Regions from separate parts of the Homo sapiens genome. Here region 1 is linked to region 2. The links are contacts of gene promoters, found by promoter capture Hi-C in human tissues and cell types (Jung and others, 2019). All regions are on one chromosome and are shown on one strand. The core of a region is centred on a gene start or on the middle of the fragment in contact, and the rest is flanking DNA. Distances in the headings are between cores, read along the strand shown. Region 1 holds the start of KRTAP21-1 (keratin associated protein 21-1). Region 2 holds the start of CLDN8 (claudin 8).

What was found. Contacts are between HindIII fragments. The study calls those that stand out against the background at their distance.
Region 1: a contact is called between the fragment with the promoter of KRTAP21-1 here and the fragment with the promoter of CLDN8 in region 2, in 1 of the 25 tissues and cell types used here (heart right ventricle).

The regions. Positions count from the first base shown.
Region 1 is chr21:30,753,184-30,757,310 of GRCh38, forward strand. It overlaps KRTAP21-1 (keratin associated protein 21-1), which reads right to left and starts at 2,245. Exons shown (of 1, transcript NM_181619.2): 1 at 1,832-2,245. The coding sequence starts at 2,195. The coding sequence ends at 1,956. The HindIII fragment of the contact is 10,114 bases long and covers 1-4,127 here.
Region 2 is chr21:30,214,826-30,219,192 of GRCh38, forward strand. It overlaps CLDN8 (claudin 8), which reads right to left and starts at 1,272. Exons shown (of 1, transcript NM_199328.3): 1 at 1-1,272. The coding sequence starts at 1,100. The coding sequence ends at 423. The HindIII fragment of the contact is 13,225 bases long and covers 1-2,669 here.

The sequences.
Region 1 (4,127 bases), core at 995-3,494, 540 kb after region 2:
GAAAGGACACTAAAATCAGAATCAAAGAAGCAGTAAACACTCCACATCAGAAAGTCAGCCAGGAAACTAGAACAGACCCTTTAATCTCATTTTTATGACCACCCCAATCTAAAAAGAACTCCATTAAGATACTAGACCTTGCTCTTTTCTAACTGAAAAATGTGTCATCACCTTCATCATACCCAAAACTTAATGAACTGCTGTCCCCCTTGGCATTTGCTACTGTCCTTTTTAGTCTTTCTTTGCTGCTGGAAATGTTGTATTATGAGCTCAAATGTCATAACCTCAAGATACTTCCCTGAGCTGTCTCTCCAGTACTTCAAACCTTAATCTCCTCTCCATTAAGCTGTTTCATTCCCTCTATAGCAATTATCTGTCTGAATTTGTTATAATTAGTTTTTGCTTCATTATTATTATTATTATTATTATTAATTATTTTAGACAGAGTTTTGCTCTTGTTGCCCGGGCTGGAGTGCAATGACGCAATCTTGGCTCACTGCAACCTCCATCTCCCAGGTTCAAGCGATTCTCGTGCCTCAGCCTCCCAAGTAGCTGGGATTACAGGCGCCCATCACCACGCCTGGCTAATTTTTGTATTCTTAGTAGAGACGGGGTTTCGCCATGTTGGCCAGGCTGGTCTCGAACTCCTGACCTCAAGTGATCCACCTGCCTCAGCCTCCCAAAGTGCAGGGATTAACAGGCATGAGCCACCACATCTGGCCTATTTTTGCTTCTTTAAATCTTCATCTGTTAGACTATAAACATTCTGAGAGCAGAACATTTGCTTATAATTTTTCTTCTGTGTCTTCAGGATGGTGTCTATTCAAAAATATTTAAGTGAATTAAATAGCATTTCTCAACCTCCATGTAAGCAAACATATATATTTGTACTTTTGTCAGATGTAGATACATTTGATAGTATATTTTTTCTTTGAACTTACCCTTTTTTAGGTTTTTATTTCCTCTTGCCTAACACTTGACCCTGACTCAAAATTTTCAACAATCCTGGAAGTGATCTCTCCTATTGCATTACTTTTTTTTGTGTGTGTGATGGAGTCTCAGTGTGTCACCCAAGCAATCTCGGCTCACTGCAACCTCCACCTCCTAAGGGTTCAAGCAATTCTCCTGTCTCCACCTCCTGAGTAGATGGAATTACAGGCACGCACCACCAAGCCCAGCTAATTTTTGTATTTTTAGTAGAAACAGAGTTTCACAATGTTGGCCAGGCTGGTCTCGAACTCCTGACCTCAGGTGATCCACCCACCTCAGCCTCCCAAAGTGCTGGGATTATATTACTTCTTTAAGCACTCAGGCTATATCTCCTCCCTGAGACTTTTGTCATAACATCCTGAATAGGTGTCACTTTGCCTCCCTTTCCCCCTCCAGCTCCATTCTAGACACTCAGTGCCATTTCCAAAGCACAGTTCTGAAATACTCTGTGATTTGTGCTTGGGTATGTGAGAACCTGAGCATGTGGGATATGAGAAGCAGGTAGAGAAGACATTATTTATGATGCAAGCATAAGAGGAAATAATTGCGTTATATCAAGGAAGTACCTAAGGTTCAGCCAACATACTGTTAGCCCAATTTTCAAGAGATTCCAAAACACCCCAAGAAAGAGTAATTCACAAGCAAGTACACAAAGATTTTTAGGAATAAAGAACCATTTTTATTACAAATGATTGACTTCCGCAACTGTAGATGTTATGATCATTAACACAGTCATAACAGAGAATCAGAGATTAAGGGAGCAAAAGATAACATTTGGAAAACAGTCAGATGACACCATGGATCCTATGGCCATGATTTCATTCAAAGAAATGTGAGGCTAGAGGTCGAAGATTCTGTCAAGCATGTAATTCTTGGATATAGAAATCTTGGAGTACGAATCCTTGAATCAGCATTATCTTCAGACGTGTCATTTTAGAAGCAAATGGTCCTCCGACAGTGATGTTTTAGCAGGAAGAATAGCATCTTCTAAAGCAAAATGGCCGGTAGCCACAGTAGCCAGAGCCAGAGCCATATCCACAGCCATAGCCAGTTCCATAACCACAGCCATAATGGGAGCCAAACCCACAGCCATACCCACAGCCATAGCCAGTTCCATAGCCACAGCCACAGCCAGAGCCAGAGCCATAGCCACAGCCACAGCCGGAGCCATAGCCACAGGAGTTGCCGTAGTAGTTGCAACACATGTTGTCAAGAGGAGAGAATTGAGATGGGTTTCAAGAAGATGCTTCTGAGGTGTGGATGTCTTCTACTTCCCTGAGACCTTTATATACTGTCAGTAATTGCCAAAGCATATCACTCATTCCCTGACTTAGGCAACAAATATTTAATCAATTATTATGTGCCAGTCACTGTTGACCATCAATAATATTTTGCTTAAAATGAGCCAATTATTTTGGAGACTCTAGTTTCATTTCAGGAACATCATTTTAATCTGCTCTGCCAAAGAACTGCCTCAATGAAATCATGTGCCCAAATATAAAGCTGATACTAATTTTCAAAATCTCCTATCAGTAAATTTATATCTTACATAACAAGTTTTGGGAGGATAATAACAAAATTTTATCCTTTTTTTCCTCTCTTTTTTCCTAAAATGTCTACCTCTACCCATAGGGAAGGAGACACTCCTATCTCCTTTCCTGAGTCATTACAACTTCTTGCCAGACTTCTTTCTCCAACTCACTCTGCACTTCCACACCTACCCCTTGTCCAACCTCCCTCAAATCCCAAGAAACATATTCACATCTGATCATTCAAAGCCAGAATGTATGCTATCTGCAAGTGCTTCCTACATTTTCCTTCCATCCACCAGGCAAACCAAGACCCTGGGGAGGCAGAGAAGCCCTCCTTTTGTCTCCCATTTCTTCAGCTATATAAGTAATTGTCATTGAGGAGCCTTTTTAAAACTAAACAGCTTCATTTGGATAAGGAAGTAAAAAAATTCATTCGACCAGAAACTCAGTTCTTTCCTCCAATACAGATTTCATCAAAGTTTTGCATGATGAAATACAGATACATTCCTAGAATTTAATAAACCATTTTTCTTCTCCTTTCACTACTATTCCTTGGACATTTACTTCAGAAGCTAAAGGATAGTGGACAATTTTAGGTTACTGACAGCAAAAGCCCACCATTAACAACTAACCCTTCTATGATATAAAGTAGCACAAAAATAAATTTTGTCCCGTTTCCATACACGCATTTCACACTACTCATTCAAAATTCTCAATTACCCACTTATTACAAGTTCTCAATCTTCTACAAAAATATTCATCGTGATTTTGAAATCCGAGGTGCCCTCCTTCTTCCCAACAATCCTCTCTATCACACTTACCTTTTCAAGATACAAAAGAGGAAAATTAGTATCATTTTTTCTGCCATTAGTATTTTTCTCATCACCCTCAATTATCAACCAAAAAAACCTTCTGTTTATACATCAAAAGTCAGATCTGGAATCACTTTCTACAGGATGCCTTTCCTCATTGCTACTGTGGATTACATTTTCCCTTCAGTTGGAAATCTTTCCTTTTTTTTCTGCTATCTGTCACTCGTCTCATCTCATTTCTCTGCTATGTTTAGTCCCTTAAAAAAAGCATAAATAGATCTCTGTCTCAATTTTTTCTTTTCCTTTAGTTTCTTTCTGTTTTTTCATCCTTGAAATTCAAAACTATAAATTCTACTTCACAAGTGGATCCTCTTGTTTGCTCCTATATGCAGACGAATATAATAGATTTGTCATGCTTTGGTGAAACTTTATCCTGTTTACTAATAAAAGCATGATATTCTTGAGGAAAGAGACTATACCTTTCACAGTAGAAATTCCAGGCAAACCTGAGACCCAATCCACATTTTACATAAGAGGAACTTAAGAGTCAATAGGAGTCAAAGACTAGACCCAAACTGAAGCCACTGTAGCTTCAATTTGGGTCTAGTCTAGATATGACTGTAGCTTCAATTTGGGTCTAGTCTAGGTAAGACTGTAGACATGATATTGGTGCCACAAAGAAAATTTTTTCTACTGAGGCTGAAAACATGGTCAGAACTCAGGAATTGGTGTTGAGCCATAAAATTTATACGACATTCCAAAATTGTCTAATGTGTATGGCATCTTTATTTTC
Region 2 (4,367 bases), core at 22-2,521:
TTTATTCAGTGTAATGGACTGGCATTTCATTTTAAATAAAACCATATAAGCATGTCTCTATGTGAGATATAAATGTTACACTCATCTATGTACATAATGCTATGTCGTGGAGAAATTACAGTAGTAAAATAATGCAGTCTTTAGCAATGTCATTTTGAAGTAAATGATAAAAAGAGTAGATGCTTGAACCACCTTAGAAAACAAATTACTATACTTTCTAGAACAATCAAAGCATTGGGTTTAATATCTCATTCTGCTGAAATAGCTTATAGAATCATAAATAGCTGATGCACAGTTCCTGTAATTAAGATTAGGCAGTTAAGAACAGTAAATCAAAGTTTCTTTGGGGTCCATTTTGAGAAAGTAATATAGATTTTTGTCATTTGCATGGCTTTATAGTAAAGTTAAAAAAACATACACAACTACACATACTGACTTCTGGAGTAGACGCTCGGTGACTTCTTTCCGGTGTGATAACTTTTTTGGGTTGTGCGATGGGAAGGTATCGAGTATCTGTAGCTACTGCTCTTTTCGTTGCAACAAAAAACGCAGCAGAACAGAGCTCCTCCAACAATCAGCACCAGTGCCGTGGTCCATCCTAAGTAGAGAGCTTCTCCAAGCTCACGTTTTTGGGCAACATTCACTATTGAGTTATAGAAATCTCTGATGATGGCATTGGCAACCCAGCTCACAGGGATGAGCACCACCATGCCCGTGATGATGAAGATGATTCCAGCCGTCAGCAGAATGTGAGCCTTCACCTTCTCATTGTCCCCCGTGCACCTGGTGCATTTCATGCCAAGGATGGCCATCATGAAAGCCAAGAAGGACATCACGGAAGCAGCACACATCAGTCCTCTGGCTGCCTGTAGGTCCGGAGAAAGAGCCAGCAGGGAATCATAGATTTTGCACTGCATCCTGATGTTAGCCTGCCTCACGCAATTCATCCACAGTCCTTCCCAGAAGTTTTCAAAAACCACGATGTTGTTTTCAATGAAGGCCGACACTCTCCACTGAGGCATGACAGTGACAGCCACTGTGCCCACCATTCCAACACCACCAAGAAACAGCCCAGCGATTTCTAAGGCATGGGTTGCCATTATCCTCTGGGATGAGTTTTAGCCAGCTGGACTCCGGAACTGCTACTTCTGCTTTGAAGCAGGGTTCTCTGTGCCACAGAAGAGAACAGTTTTTCCTGTAGTAATGAACTCGGAACCCAGTGGTTTTTCAAATAAGAGCTGCTTTGCTACTTCTGGCCAGATAGTATCCAGTGCTGGCTGGCTGAGATGGCCCTGCTATTGGCTGCAACAGGTAAACTTACAAATCAGGTGTGGCAACTTTCTCAGCCAATAAAAGGTGGATGGTAATCCAGGTGTGTCTAAACCAACACTTGGGTACTTGGAACAGCTAGACCTGCACATAAACATTCTTTATACTTCTCGGTCTTCCAAGAAGACAGCAGTATGTTTACCTGTAGGCATAGTTATAAGTGGTTGCATAAGCATCAAGAAATGAGCCGATCCCTTGTAATGTGAAAGGTGCACCTTGTACAGGCAATTCTGAAACTCTTAATAAGAGCTGCTGGGACCAAGGGATAAAATAAATTATCTGCCGAAGAATTCTGCAACGCTGTTGAAATGCCAAAGTGAAACGAGAGTAGGGGATTGAAAGATTGCTTTTACCTGGGAAGCCACATTCTTTGGGACACATGTGATCCAAGTGATTGATTTAATTTTTCTACAACTTCAAAGCAAGCTCTACTGTGGTGAAATCAGGGAACAGATCATGCCAGAGGACAAAATAAGCTAAAGTAATTAAATACACAAGGCTGTCCTTCTCCTTGGCACTGAAAACATATTGGAGTTCTTTAAGCCAGAAAAAATACTCATTGACACTTTTCTGATAATCTTCACTTATAAAAACATTTTTTGCCAAAATAAAAATCACCAGATGATTATCTTATGTATCCAGCACTATAGCATTAAAATAAGCTTATGAGCTTATTTTGTGGTGTTATTCTTGCTGCTTTGAATTCCTGGGCTGAAGGAACTAGAATTCTGAAGATGACACAAGACCCTTGGGCCTATACAAATGGCTGATATTTCAAAATAAGATATTTACAAGACAAGGGAACTATATTTACCAAACTGTATTATATTAGGTATTAACCAAATATGTTTTCCTACCTTTTAATATTATGTCTGCAGTAGGACATAGAAACCCCTAAACGCAAGACAATTTGAACTTTCTTCTCAAAATAATGATGCTCTAACAGTAGTGCTATACTAAGCATAAATGTTTATCTGAGAAAATTCGACTAGCAATTTTCTTCTGGAGATCACCTTAAGCTCTCTGTCTGATCTTTCCAAAGTTTAAGCTGCCACTTCATTTTCTTTTCTTCTTAACATCATAAAAAATGATTTTCTCTTTACAGTTTTACTTTCTCTCTGTTTCATTGGACTACCTTAAATCCAAATATGGGAGAAAATCGTTTCTGCTCACTGATTAAACTTTGAGAGTTTCATGGTTCAAAAAATCTGAGTCATTTGTGGATATTATTAAAACAAAAACTATATGGTAGAAAGGGCAAAAGGAGGATCAAGTAGACTGTCTTCTAAAAAAGAGGCAGGACAGACGCACAGTAGTATGAGTTGTTATAATTTTGTTAAACAGACGTTATAAACCTTATAAAAAGTTAAAACTTAATATTTACAGAAATATTCTCATTTGTTGACCTGTGAGGTGCCAAACTTCAGGGTGTCCCTTAGGCTGATGCAGAAAATATGCAGCATTTGGCCGGGGCGGTGGCTCACGCCTGTAATCCCAGCACTTTGGGAGGCCGAGACGGGCAGATCAAGAGGTCAAGAGATCGAGACCATCCTGGCTAACACGGTGAAACCCCGTCTCTACTAAAAATACAAAAAATTAGCCTGGCATGGTGGCGGGCGCCTGCAGTCCCAGCTACTCGGGAGGCTGAGGCAGGAGAATGGCATGAACCCAGGAGGCAGATCTTGCAGTGAGCCGAGATCGCGCCACTGCACTCCAGCCTGGGTGACAGAGCAAGACTCTGTCTCAAAAAAAAAAAAAAAAAAGAAAAGAAAATATATGACATTTTCTTCATCAAGTTTCTATCAGTTACAGATTTGTGGTGGAGGGAGACTTAGATTAATCTTGGGAAAATAAGATTTTAAAAGTTGAGATTTTAAACTTTCAAAGTTTAAGAAGTGAGCAGAAAACATTTTCTCCCATATTTGGATTTAAGGTAGCCCGATGAAGCAGAGAGAAAGTAAAATTTCAAAGAAAGGATCATTTTTATGATGTGAAGAAGAAAAGAAAATGAAGTAAAGCTTAAAGATTTTCCTTTTGTGCAATCCACAAAAGGAAAAATGACATATAAACAGAAGATATTTTTCATCTTTAATTGTCAAACTGGGAAAAAGGAGTGATTGACAGAACTGAAAAATGAAAAAGAAATAATATAACTGGTTGAGATAATGACTACGTGAAGCTACATTTTAAGGGATGTCAAGGCATATATTGCTTCATTGAAATTTCTTTTCGAATTCCCGTGTGGCATGTTTCTTAGGAGCTCTGTTTAAATATTGCTGACTATCCACATCAACACAGGAACGCATGAGACAGAAGCAGAAAGCTCTGCCTCTGAGTGCCTCAGCCGTTGTGGGAGCTGCTTCCCAGGTACGCATTCATATTTCTTGGCTTTGTGTATTACCAAACCTCTCTTCCCTTGAGGCTTGAATTTTACCAGGAACTTATTTTACATAAAAATATTTTCCTTATTTCAAAAATATTAGGTACTTTACTATTGAAATTGTTCTAGCCAAAAGATGAGGATCTGAGTGGGAAATTAACACTAGGTTCACATTAGAATTATTGTACAGTTAATTCCCTACTAGGAAGTGGCCCAGGGTTTCCAAATAGGTTCCTTATCAGACAATGATACAGTTAACTCCATAGTATTTATAAATAACCATGTCCTAAAAGACACTGGAATAAAAAGACAGAAAAAAATGGTAATATTGAGTTTGCTAAAGACAAAAGGGGCCTAAATTCAAAGATAAAAGGAAACTGTTATCTACTTTTCTGTCCTGCTGAATTGATTAACTTGGCTACAAAATTCAGATAGCAGTAATAGAGATATAACAGATTGATAACATTTTTACTCTAATTTAGAACTACAGAGCAAAATACATCGATTATTCAATAGTTTGTACTTCCATTTCCATGAAGAACCACAGTACTACCAAGAACCCAGGAGAGAAATGAGAGCTCATGTCAACCCCCTCTCCACCCTCCCTCGGGCTTTTCTGTCTGTCAACATCATCATAAGGCATGATTTAAGTTTAGCA